Linked DNA regions of Homo sapiens: regions 1 and 2 are each linked to region 3. The links are contacts of gene promoters, found by promoter capture Hi-C in human tissues and cell types (Jung and others, 2019). All regions are on one chromosome and are shown on one strand. The core of a region is centred on a gene start or on the middle of the fragment in contact, and the rest is flanking DNA. Distances in the headings are between cores, read along the strand shown. Region 1 has its middle 150 kb from the start of LINC02553. Region 2 overlaps LINC02713 (long intergenic non-protein coding RNA 2713). Region 3 holds the start of CNTN5 (contactin 5).

The links. The method cuts DNA at HindIII sites, captures the fragments that hold promoters and counts their contacts. A contact is called where the count stands out against the background at its distance.
Region 1: a fragment that was not itself captured here is called in contact with the fragment with the promoter of CNTN5 in region 3 in 1 of the 25 tissues and cell types used here (dorsolateral prefrontal cortex).
Region 2: a contact is called between a fragment that was not itself captured here and the fragment with the promoter of CNTN5 in region 3, in 1 of the 25 tissues and cell types used here (mesendoderm cells).

The regions. Positions count from the first base shown.
Region 1 is chr11:97,103,425-97,107,275 of GRCh38, forward strand. No RefSeq gene overlaps it. Among named protein-coding and RNA genes, the nearest start is that of LINC02553, 150 kb to the right of the region's middle. The HindIII fragment of the contact is 8,793 bases long and covers 1-3,851 here.
Region 2 is chr11:97,940,586-97,944,405 of GRCh38, forward strand. LINC02713 (long intergenic non-protein coding RNA 2713) reads right to left here. Exons shown (of 6, transcript NR_183633.1): 2 at 2,021-2,179. Among named protein-coding and RNA genes, the nearest start is that of LINC02713, 15 kb to the right of the region's middle. The HindIII fragment of the contact is 5,758 bases long and covers 1-3,820 here.
Region 3 is chr11:99,018,956-99,022,842 of GRCh38, forward strand. CNTN5 (contactin 5) reads left to right here and starts at 1,994. Exons shown (of 25, transcript NM_014361.4): 1 at 1,994-2,315. The HindIII fragment of the contact is 4,883 bases long and covers 100-3,887 here.

The sequences.
Region 1 (3,851 bases), core at 533-3,032, 1.9 Mb before region 3:
TTTACCAGAGACTAGGATTGCAACCTCTGCCTTTTTTTTGTGTTCCATTTACTATGGCAATGTTGTGGAATGAAATGTGTTTCTCCAAAATTCACATGTTGAAGGCCAACCCCTGTATCTCAGAATTTGACTGCATTTGTTGATAGTGCCTTTAAACAAGTGATTAAGTCAAAATAAGACCATTTGGGTGGGCCCTAATCCAAACTAACTGGTGTCCTTCTATGAGAGGCCATTTGGACACACAAAGAGATATCAGGGGTGCACATGCAGATACAGAAATGACGACATAAGAAAACAGTGAGAAGGCAAGCCAACAAGAGAGCCCTCAGAAGAAGCCAAACCTCCTGACACCTTGATCTTGGACTTTTGGCCTCCAGAACTGCAAGAAAATAATTTTATTTAAAAAAAAAATAATTGGAATTATAAAATTCAAGAAGAGAAACTACTTATCCTGGATGCGCCATTTTTTCTTGCATTTTTGCATTATTCAGTCCATCTTTCCAATGCAGTGTTTATCAACCCCTGGTAAATAGTAAAATCATTTGGAGAGATCTTAGAAAATATTGATGTTTGGCCCTATGAAGTTTGGGAAGTTATATGAAGTTTGGGAATAATGGAGGTTAATGTAAGTGATATTAAATGTTAACATATAAAAATTAGATAAATGGGTGAATGAGAGAATGAATAGCTTCATGTTTCTGTTGGGGACTTTAGAGTAGATGTTGTTTACCATTAATGACAACAAAGAACTCCAAATTAGGAACTGGATTGAGGAAAATTTGAAGAATTAACTGGGAGGTATCTGAGGAGCAATAACAAGTAAGCTATCATTAGATATTGTTTTTTGTGTTTTGCAAAAGATATGTGATCCAAGTAACTGATATAAATTTCTTATGATTATCCCTTTTCATTAGATATAAAAATACTAAATGGGAATATTCACAGACTGTACTAACCAGACAGTGTCCTCTATTCTATCTGCAGACCCTTTAGTCAAATCATGCTAAGAATTTTCTTTAGATACAAGACTCTAAAGCATGCGTGGCAAATATTTAACATGTAGGCTGTACATGTATATGGAGAATTCCAGTGTAATCTTAAATTATATGCATCAATTTGCTAATTACTAACGAGCAAAGATAAGGGCCATTATTCCAGCTTCACATGGTAGTCTTAGCCATGCCACCTCTCCTTTATTGTTAGATTTACAGTTTTCCTAAAAAAAGGTTAAATTTCTTTCCCCTCCAAAAACTGTCCTGGTTTTATCTTTGTCTAGATAGTTCCTTCTCTCGCTTAAGGTTCTATCTCATTATCAGCATAAATTCTATGTTTTGCATTGTTGGAATAAGAAAAAGCCTTGTTGAGAGTCATACCAGGGCACTGTGATTTCTTATTGGCCTAGCTGATGATGTGATACTCTTGTTTTTCACCTATTCTGGGTAGCAATTTGGAATGAAAAAATAATATTACCGTGGTATAAGTCCCAACAGAAGTATTAAATCTGGCTAGCACTACTTGTTATGACAGACTAAAATAAATACACTTACATTTCACCTTGGTTACTTTTCCATAAGAGTAATTTTATAAGTAGAGTTACTCTGCCTTGACAAATACTGAACTGTTGGGTAAAAAATGTATATGCTAACATGAATCATGCATATGAGTGTGCTTAGGTAACAATATATGGTAGAAATAGTGATATTGACTTCATATGGATTTTACATATTGATTATACTGTATCACTGTATATATATTACATTGATTATATATTATCAATGTTATAATAGTTGGAGAAATAATACATACATATCATATATTACATATCATATACGTTATCCATCCCACCAAAAAGTTCTCTTTGAGAGAGATGTAATTTATAATAATATGACAGCAACTTTCTATATATTTTTTCTATACATTCAAAATTATATCTTTGCTGATGAGTAAAAAAGTTGAGCAACATGGACGATGCTTATAGATTAATTGCATATCTTCTTTAGCTCAGTAGTGGGATTATCAGGATTTAATTAAAAATTCACTCAAAATTCTTTGGAGGTGAAAAGCTTTTTGGATGAAAAAAATATAAATTTCAGAAGTTTCACTGAGATCAGTGATACTTCAGAGTATTTTTCTTGAAATTTTAGTAAAAAACATTCTTGTCGAAGAAATACAGTGTTCTGTAGTCAAGAATAACCCACCTGTGAATAGCATTGGTACATAATAAATTTAGTATTTTTATTTTTCTATTGTTGTTTTTAGAGATTCCGTGTTCATATATGAAGCACAGAGCAAAACAGGGGGTGTCTGAAAAAAGCCTCATGCCAGTCCAGAAAGCACCCCATCCAGGAGTATTGATATTGCTAAATTAACCATGAATCATGATCTGGTCCTCAGAATCTTGATTTTACTGGTGTTCTGTGAATGACTGAGAGTGAATGTGTGACTAGGAACATTAACTAAGGAGGACTGAGGAATTTTCACCTTCTTTAACTTATCTTCTTAACCTGGGTACCATAAATGAAATTTAGGGGACCTAATAACCTATCTAAAACAGTGCATATTTCTGAAGAGATGGTCAAATTCTCAAAGGAGTCTGTGAAAAAAGAAATTGGTCAGGTTAGAAATAGACAAGCCAAAGAAAAGTCAATATTTCCAAGCAAGACTCTCCCCTTATCCCCGTAGGAAAATGTTTGCTTTTCTCTCTCTCATTTTTATTCTCCATCTCTGTCAGTCTGTCTCTCACATTTTTTCTCAATCTTTTTTTGAAAGTAAAATTCTTTTTTTTTTTTTCTTTTTTTTTTCTTGGTCCTCTTGTTTTATTTTTTTTTATTATTTTTTTTTATTATACTTTAAGTTTTAGGGTACATGTGCACATTGTGCAGGTTAGTTACATATGTATACATGTGCCATGCTGGTGCGCTGCACCCACTAACTCGTCATCTAGCATTAGGTATATCTCCCAATGCTATCCCTCCCCCCTCCCCCCACCCCACCACAGTCCCCAGAGTGTGATATTCCCCTTCCTGTGTCCATGTGATCTCATTGTTCAATTCCCACCTATGAAAGTAAAATTCTTATCATCTTTTTCCTAACAGCATACAAGTAAATTATCACTAAATTGTCACATTCCAGTTATCCAACAGTGATATTACTTTCAGATTACCTTGATGGTTATATTGAGTATCAATGTTATATATATATATAAATGAATTAAAATATCCAATGTGTATCAATGTATCAACTTTACCATTTTGAATGTAAGGATATCCTTGTTTCTTAGTAGTCTTGATGCATCTCAATGTTAACTATCATTTGAGGTAAAATTTAATTTTTCCACACAGATGATTTTTCTCCATTTTAACATAAAATGAACTATGATATTATAACAGAAAATTTATAGCATTTGTACTAACTACAAAGATTAACGTTTTTATACAAAATTACATTTTGGTTTGCCTCTAGATGGGGATGTCATGATTGATTTCTTTATGTTGAACATAAAATCAGGAGAAATGTAAGGAATTACAAAGTACGTCATCTGTAATCTAATTGGGAACTTTTTATTGAGAATTTATAGATGCTGTTTTGAGAACCAGCCATGTTCATGCATTCTGGTTTCATTTATCTTAGATGGGATAAACCATGTTTGTAATTTGTTAATTTTTGATAATTTTCCATCAGTTTTGGAAGCTATACAACCTATTCTGGCAGCACATTTCTATGGCTGAGAACCAGAAGTCAGGTAGAAAAATATGGACAAAATATTCTTATAAAAATTCATGTGAACTTTGATATTTTATAGTTGCAGAAATGAACTAGCAAAATTTCTGGAATGAATATATCAGAGGTAG
Region 2 (3,820 bases), core at 47-2,546, 1.1 Mb before region 3:
GCAGAAACAACGTTTGATGCTAGCAGAGGTTGGTACACAAGGTTTAAGGAAAGAAGCCATCTCCATAACATAAAAGCACAAGTTGAAGTAACAAATGCTGAAGTGGAAGTTGCAGCAAGTTATCCAGATGATCTAGTTAAGATCATTGATCAAAGTGACTACATCAAACAATGGATTTTCAATGTGATGAAATAGCCTTATGTTGGAAAAAGATACCATTTAGGACTTTCATAGCTAGAGAGGAGGAGCCAATGCCTGGCTTGAAAGCTTCAAAGGAGCTTTCTTAGGAGCACTCTCTTAAATGCTAATGCAGGTGACTAAGTTGAAGCCAGTGCTTCTTTACCGAGATGAAAATCCTAGGGCCCTTAAGAATTATGCTAAGTCTACTCTGCCTGTGCTCTAGCAATGGAACAACAAAGCCTGGATGACAGAACATCTGTTTGCAGCATAGTTTATTGAATACCTTAAGTCCAATATTAAGACCTACTTCTCAGTAAAATAGATTTATTTTAAAGTATTACTGTTAACTGAGAATGCACCTAGTAATCCAAGAGCTCTGAAGGAGTTGTATAAGGAGATTGGAATTGTTTTCATGCCTACTAACACAACATCCATTCTGCAGCCAATGCATAAAGGAGTAATTTAGACTTTCAATTTTTATGATTTAAGAAATACATTTTATAAGGCCCTAGATACCATAGATAGTGATCCCTGTGGTGAATCTGGGAAAAGTAAATGGAGAATCTTTTGGAAATAATTCACAATCTTAGATGTCATCAAGAACATTCATGATGCATGAAAGGAAGTCAAAATATCAACATTACCAGGGATTTGGAAGAAGCTGATTCCAACACTCATAAATGACTTGGAGGAGTTCAAGACTTCAGTAAAGGAACTAATTACAGATGTTATGGAAATGGCAAGAGAAGTACAATTAGAAGTGGACCCTGAAGATGTGAATGAATTGCTTCAATCCTATGATGAGACTTGAACAGATGAGAAGTTGCTTCCTTCAGAAAAACAAAGAAAGTAGTTTCTTGAGACAGAACCAACTCCTGGTGAAGATGCTGTGAACATCATTGAAATGACAAAGGATTTAGAATATTCATATGCTCATTTGATAAAACAGCAGTAGAGTTTGAAAAAACTGCCTCCAGTTTTTAAAGAAGTTCTACAGTGAATAAAATGCTATCAAATAGCATCAGAGAACATATTACAGAGAAATCTTTCGTTAAAGGAAAAGTCAATCGATGCTGCAAACTTCACTGTTGTCTTATTTTTAGAAATTGCCACAACCACCAAACCTTCGGCAACCACCATGCTGATCAGTTAGTAATCATCAACATCAAGGCAAGATCCTCCACCAGAAAAGAGTCAGACTCATTGAAGTCTCAGATGGTTGTTAACCTATTTTAGCAATAAAGTATTTTTGAGTTAACATATACACATTGTTTTCTTAGACATAATGCTATTACACACTCAACAGCCTTGGGTACAGGGCAAACACAACCTTAATGTGCACTGGAAAACAGAAAAGTCCACATAACTTGCTTTAGTATGATATTTATTTTATTGCAGTGGGTCTGGAACTGAGCCCAAAATATCTTCAAGCTATGCCTGTATATGACAAATAAAAGCAGCTCATGTTATTTAGGTTTAAATATAACTCTATTTGTAACTTCCATAAATATAAATGAACAAAATACTGTAATTAATAGAAACAGATTATCAGATTAAATAATCTAAAGCCAACCACAGTGGGTTGAATTGTTTCCCTCCAGAATTTAAGTCTACCAGGTGCCCTAGAATGTGACCTTCTTTTGACATAGAATCTTTGTAAATGTAACTGAGGTAGAAATTAAGATGAAATCATGGTGAATCAGAGTGGACCTTAAATCCAGTGACAGTGTCCTTATAAGAGGCAGAAAAGAACATACGTGGACACAGAAAAGAAAACCATGTGAAGACAGAAACAGAATGGGAATTATGCTGCCATAAGTCAAGGAATGCTTGGGGTTACCAGAAGCAGGAAGAGGCAAAAATGGATTCTTCCTTAGAGCCTTAGTGGAATGATGGCCTTGCTGATATCTTGATTGCAGAGCTGTAGCCTTCAGGACTGTGAGAGTACTAATTTGTGTTGTTCTAAGCCTCCAAGTTGTGGCAATTCATAACAGTAGACCTAGAAGACAAATAAAGGTTTAGTCCTGGGAAGTGGGCTGCAAATATAAAAAAAATACTAAGAAATGTGGAAGTGGCTTTGGAAATGGGAAATGGCTAGAGATTGGAAGAATTTTGAGTCATGTAACAGAAAAAGTATATATTGCCTTGGAGAGACTGTTGGTGAAAATATAGAGGTTATAAGTACTTATGGCAAGGTCTAGGACAGAGAAAAGAAACATGATATTTGGAACTGGAGGAAATGTAATCCTTGTCATAAATTGGCAGAAAACTTGACTTAATTGTTTCTATTAATGGGTGAGGAAAAGAACTTTTAAGAATTCACCTAGGATATTTTGAAGAAGAGATTTCTAAGCAGAGTTTTGAAGGTGTGGCCTGGATTCTTTTTATTACTTATAGTAAAATGCAAGAAGACAAAGATACATCGATGAAGGAACTGTTAAGCAAAAAGGAAGCAACACTCAATGATTTGGAAAATTCTCAGCCTATCAAGACTGCAAAAGATGCTAGAGCATGCTCTGGAGAAAGGGTAGAGTGTGGCTGGACAAACTTCTGGTAAAGACATGAGATGTATAACTCATGCATCCAATCAATCATTTCCACAGAAGCCATAAATAGAGACAAGCTATAAAGAAAGGATCTGTGGAGAACCCTTTGTTTAACAATGTGGGTCCCCCTGACAGACACAGAGACCCTCAAGATTTTTCAGAATGTTATACCACCAAAAACACTGGCAGCTTGGACTGAAGAGGACAGAAATGGGATGAAATGAAAAGGCTGTCATTATTTGGGGATTCTACAAGCAAAACGTGTCCTGCTAGAGCAACTCTGGCAGAAAACAAGTGCTAACCTTCAGAAAAATGAAGAATAATTCTGAGGGAAGAATTGTCACAAAGGTCATTACAAAGTTAATTCCAGAGAGTGGAGCCAGAGAACAGACCATCAAGCCTAAAAGGATTAAGCCTAAGCCTTGAATTTACAGATCTACTCTGCGAAGATTTGGAGTTGCTTGGAACTAGTGATCCTTTACTCCTACAAATTTCTACCTGTTAATATAAAAATATCTATCTAATGCCTGTACCACTATTTCATTTTAAAAGCAGATAAATTTGTTTGTTTTCCCTGTTCACAGATGAAGAAGTATTTTGACCTAGGGTGGACCATACACATTCCCAACCAAACATGATTGAGAAGGTTTGGAAGATGAAACTTGGTACTTTAGAATTTTTCTCTTTTAGTGGAAATTTATATACATAATATATAATTTGTCATTTTTATGTGTAAAATGTTTTTGTCACCTCTCCCAAAAAACTTTGTAATTTTTAAGGAATAACCAATAGTCCCCTATTCCACAAAACCTGGTAACCTCTAATTTATTGAATGTCTCTATGAATTTGCTTACTGTAGATATTTTCTTCAAATTATAAAATAATTGGCATTTTGTTCCTGGCTTATTTCATTTAGTATACTTTTCTTGGTTTATCCTTCTTGTAGCATGTATCAGAACTTCATTCATCTTTTTGTATGTCTAAATAATTTCCCACTGTATGCATACATATATATATGTATATATATATATATATAATTTATTTATGTGCCGATGGATACTGGTTTATTTTCATCTTTTATTTGTTGTGAGTAG
Region 3 (3,887 bases), core at 744-3,243:
TTCTTTACATTGGCTGCTAACAAAGTTAATGGCAGACCTAGCACCATTTGTAACAAAAACATCAATGCAGTTTTCTCTATAAACCTCATTTCTGGCTTCATCTTATCTCTCCTCCTATCACTTTACCGTTTGTCTTGATCTCACTGACCTACATTTTTTATTCATTTTTTTAAACTGAATAGATTTTTATAAGCCAACTTACATCCTTTCTAGGGCAAAGCTAGTTGAAAGAAATTATGTGACATAATGACTCAAAATGCCCAAATTATCGGATCATGGGTAATATAGAATGGTGTTCTAAGAAGGGAAGAGAACTTTCAGAAAGCTTTCTACACTCCCGATCCCTCTTTCAGGCTGCATGTGCTCAATTATACACTTTTAAAGGCAAAAACCTCATCGAACAATAAAAAGAATGCGTTAGAGCTCCTACACTTTGAATTTATTTTGTGATGTATTTAATGTGGTTATAAAAGTCCTGGTAGTTCTCTCTGTGAACCGACAGCCTGACAGAGGAGAAGAGCCAGTGGGGCAGAGAAAAAGCCACAGAAGGGGAATCTCCACAACGATCCCTCAGTTAACACATAAAGAAGATAACCTAGTTACTGGAAAGCAGGAACACGAATATAAAAAGTATGGAAGAGTGGAGAAGTATTAAATGCACACAAATTTGTCTTTGCTACAGAACAAGCAATCAGCCTAGATCCTGAGGATAGCGATTAAAAGCAGAGACTGGGTGTTTGTACATCATTGGATGAATGAGAAGCAGCCAAGAAACAGGAAAAGACTAATTTTAATTACCAGAAAAACTGCAAGAGAAAGAACACAGGGCTAGTGGTAGACGGCTTCCAGCTACAGGCTGCCTGGCACTGTACTCTCCTTGCCAATTAGAGCCAGTCAGACCCCATCGGGGGATTCAGTGAGCAGAAGAATCAGCGTCAGTCCAGGGTCAGGCTGCTCTCAAACACACATGAAAAACGGACACCAGCGGACACGGGGTGCGACCCTAGACTCCCATGCAGTTTCTTATACAGACACAGAGATAGAAAGCAGTACGTGGGATTTCCTTTCCATTAAATACAGGTGCAAACCACATTCTCTATGGAAATATATTGCAAAGGAAATGTTATATAATTTATTTAACAAATACCCAATTACCATCAGCCCAATCGTGGGAATTGGAAAACGACTCAAAGACTGAGAGGAAAAAAAAAAAAAAAGTAGAGAGGAGGACTGGCAGAACAATGGCACTAAAGCTGCCACACTGTGGATTTACTACCTGTGTTATTTTTCCAATTACAGCCATTGTAATATAAAAATTCCGAAAAAAAGGTTGCTGAGACCATTCCTTCGCTTTTTTTTAGAACTGAGTCAACACCCCAAATCAAAGAGAAATATAAACAGGCAGAGCCTGATAGTCCTTAGATGAAACGCGTAAGTGCAGAAACAAAAGAGAAGTGCTTCCCATTCAGGACTTAAGAAAATTCTGCAAAGTGAAAAAGTCCACTCTCAAACCGACCTAAGTGAACGCGTCAGTCTGTGCTGCTGCTGTCAGAGGTGTGAGCCGGGGACTACAGGAATCAGAGTGAAGACAGGAGCGGAGGAAGGGACTCTCGCCTGGATCTCCCGTGCCGACTCCAGCCAGCACGTTTGCTTTGTAATCTATGAATGTTAAATACGGAGGGGTTGCAGAGCAGAAACGCTCGGGGAAGGGGGGCAGGTCCTCTGTACTTAGCAGGGAAGGAAAATGCCGGTTGACTAGTGAGACGAGTGGAGAAACACAGAGCACCCTCCGGGAGGCGCACAGTTCGTTAAGCCCAGGGACATGCTCAATGAACCTTTGCAGCAAGAGGCAGTGAGGCGCTGGACGCGGGCGCCGGTGACAGCGCGGGCGGCCGGGGAGGGGCGAGGGGCCGCCCCGGGAGGACACAGCCAGTCAGAGGCGCGGGGCGCAGGGCGCGCGGACGCATTGGAGGAAAACACGCGAGCCCCAAACACACCAGCCGCAGGAGGCGCCGCACCTACTTCCCAATATAACCAACTACGGCGTGGGGGAGCGGAACTGCGAGAAGGCGGCAGCCAAAGTGCCATTAAAGCTCGGGGCGGAGAGGATGCGTTACCTGGGTCCCGTCTGCTGCGAGAGGCAGGGCAAGCTGGAGGATTCCCTCTGAATGATTAAGAACTCCGCAATTCGCCTCTGCCACAGGCTGCAAAGGACCCGAGGAACCGCTCTCTCTGAACTGTGCTGATGGGCAGGAGGATGGGAGACAGGAATTGAGAGTCACAGAGGAAGGACAGTGGAGTCTGGCATCTTATTGGTAAGTGGCTGACATTCCTTTGCCAGTGACTGCGTTCTGTGATTGTGCACTTCATCTCCCAGCCACTTAGGATTTTTGACACACTCTGTTCTGCAAAGCCATCCTTTCTTGCCATGTTGCCAGAATGTAAAAACTGTAAGATGAAGCTTTTTTAAATAAAGGAAACAAAACACGACTTTATTTCCTGCTGGGATTTTATGGCAAAAAGTTGAAACAAGAGTAAATATAACCTATTTGTATATCTCCTAATGCCACCCAAAATAAGAGTAAGCAATTCCTACACGCAAATTGCAAATTGTAAGGCAATAAATGCCAGGATAAAGTGAGGATGTTTCTACAAAAGAAACTAAATGTTTGGAAAATAGGATGCCGTTCTCAGGTACTGAATGTATGCCTTATGTTTGAGCAATGAGTTTCCGAGACTAAATAATTGGGCATCTGGCATTGCAATAACTTGTTAAAATTCAGTAGGGATGCTCTATAAGTGGAGTTCTACAAAGTTCGTGAGACTGAGAAAAACTGTATCTTGGATTATGCTGAGCTTTTTTCTAAAGGTTGTATAGGATTGTGATAGATTAAAAAATTATGTTCAGACATCCTTACCATGTTTTGTAGGGAGATATACGGAAGAGAATATCAATTTGCACATACACAAACCTGAGAATTACTCTGATGACCTGAACAATAAGTTGTTTCAACTATATTTATTTGCGAAAGAACCAGAATCCACTAAATATTTTAGAATTATATTACTTTTAAATCTTAGAACTGTTCTCCCAAGAAAAATACAATTTCATGTGGTAATTTAAATGCAGGTGAGAAGCAAAAAACTTTTAAACTGTTGTATGTTCAATGCCTTACCTACATTTCATTCATTTGTTTCTTAATTTAAAAGAGAAAATCATTTAGAGGGTCAATACTTCTACTTTGATTCTCAATTACGACTGTGGAAATAAGGATGAAAGAAGTAGATGTTCATTAGAATACTAGCATTTAAAATTATAGACAAATAGTCAAATTTAAAAATTAATGCAGATATCATCGATTACTGTTGAATTGCAACAGAATTACAGAAGTACTTATGACCATTACAGGGAGCTTAAAGGAGTTCATTATGATTAATATTGTGACTCTCAGTATTTTAAAAAATAATGATTAGGTCATTAACTGTTTTTGAAAATGCCTGTAGTCAATTTTGAGCAATTCTCATGGTTGCTTGCATATTCTCCTATTTCATGCTCAAATTATTCTAAGTTAAGTGGGGACTAGTATGCTGAGTCTTAAACTTAACAGGCATAAGTTTACTCTGACTCTAATCGAAAAGAGGTATGAGTAAGAATATGTCATATAAAACTAATGATAACAAATTAAAGATATTACATAAAAAGATCATCTAAGTCCATTAAAGGGAAAAAGGCAAAAAAAATCAGAGTTAAAGTTATAAAAAGGGAAATTCAATATAAAGAATAGAATTTGACAAATAGCTGGAGTGTGAGGGAATGATATTAAAGCCTATCTGAAAATAGAAAGTCAGTGAAATGATTATTACAAGTGCCAGTGTTTTTGCTTAGG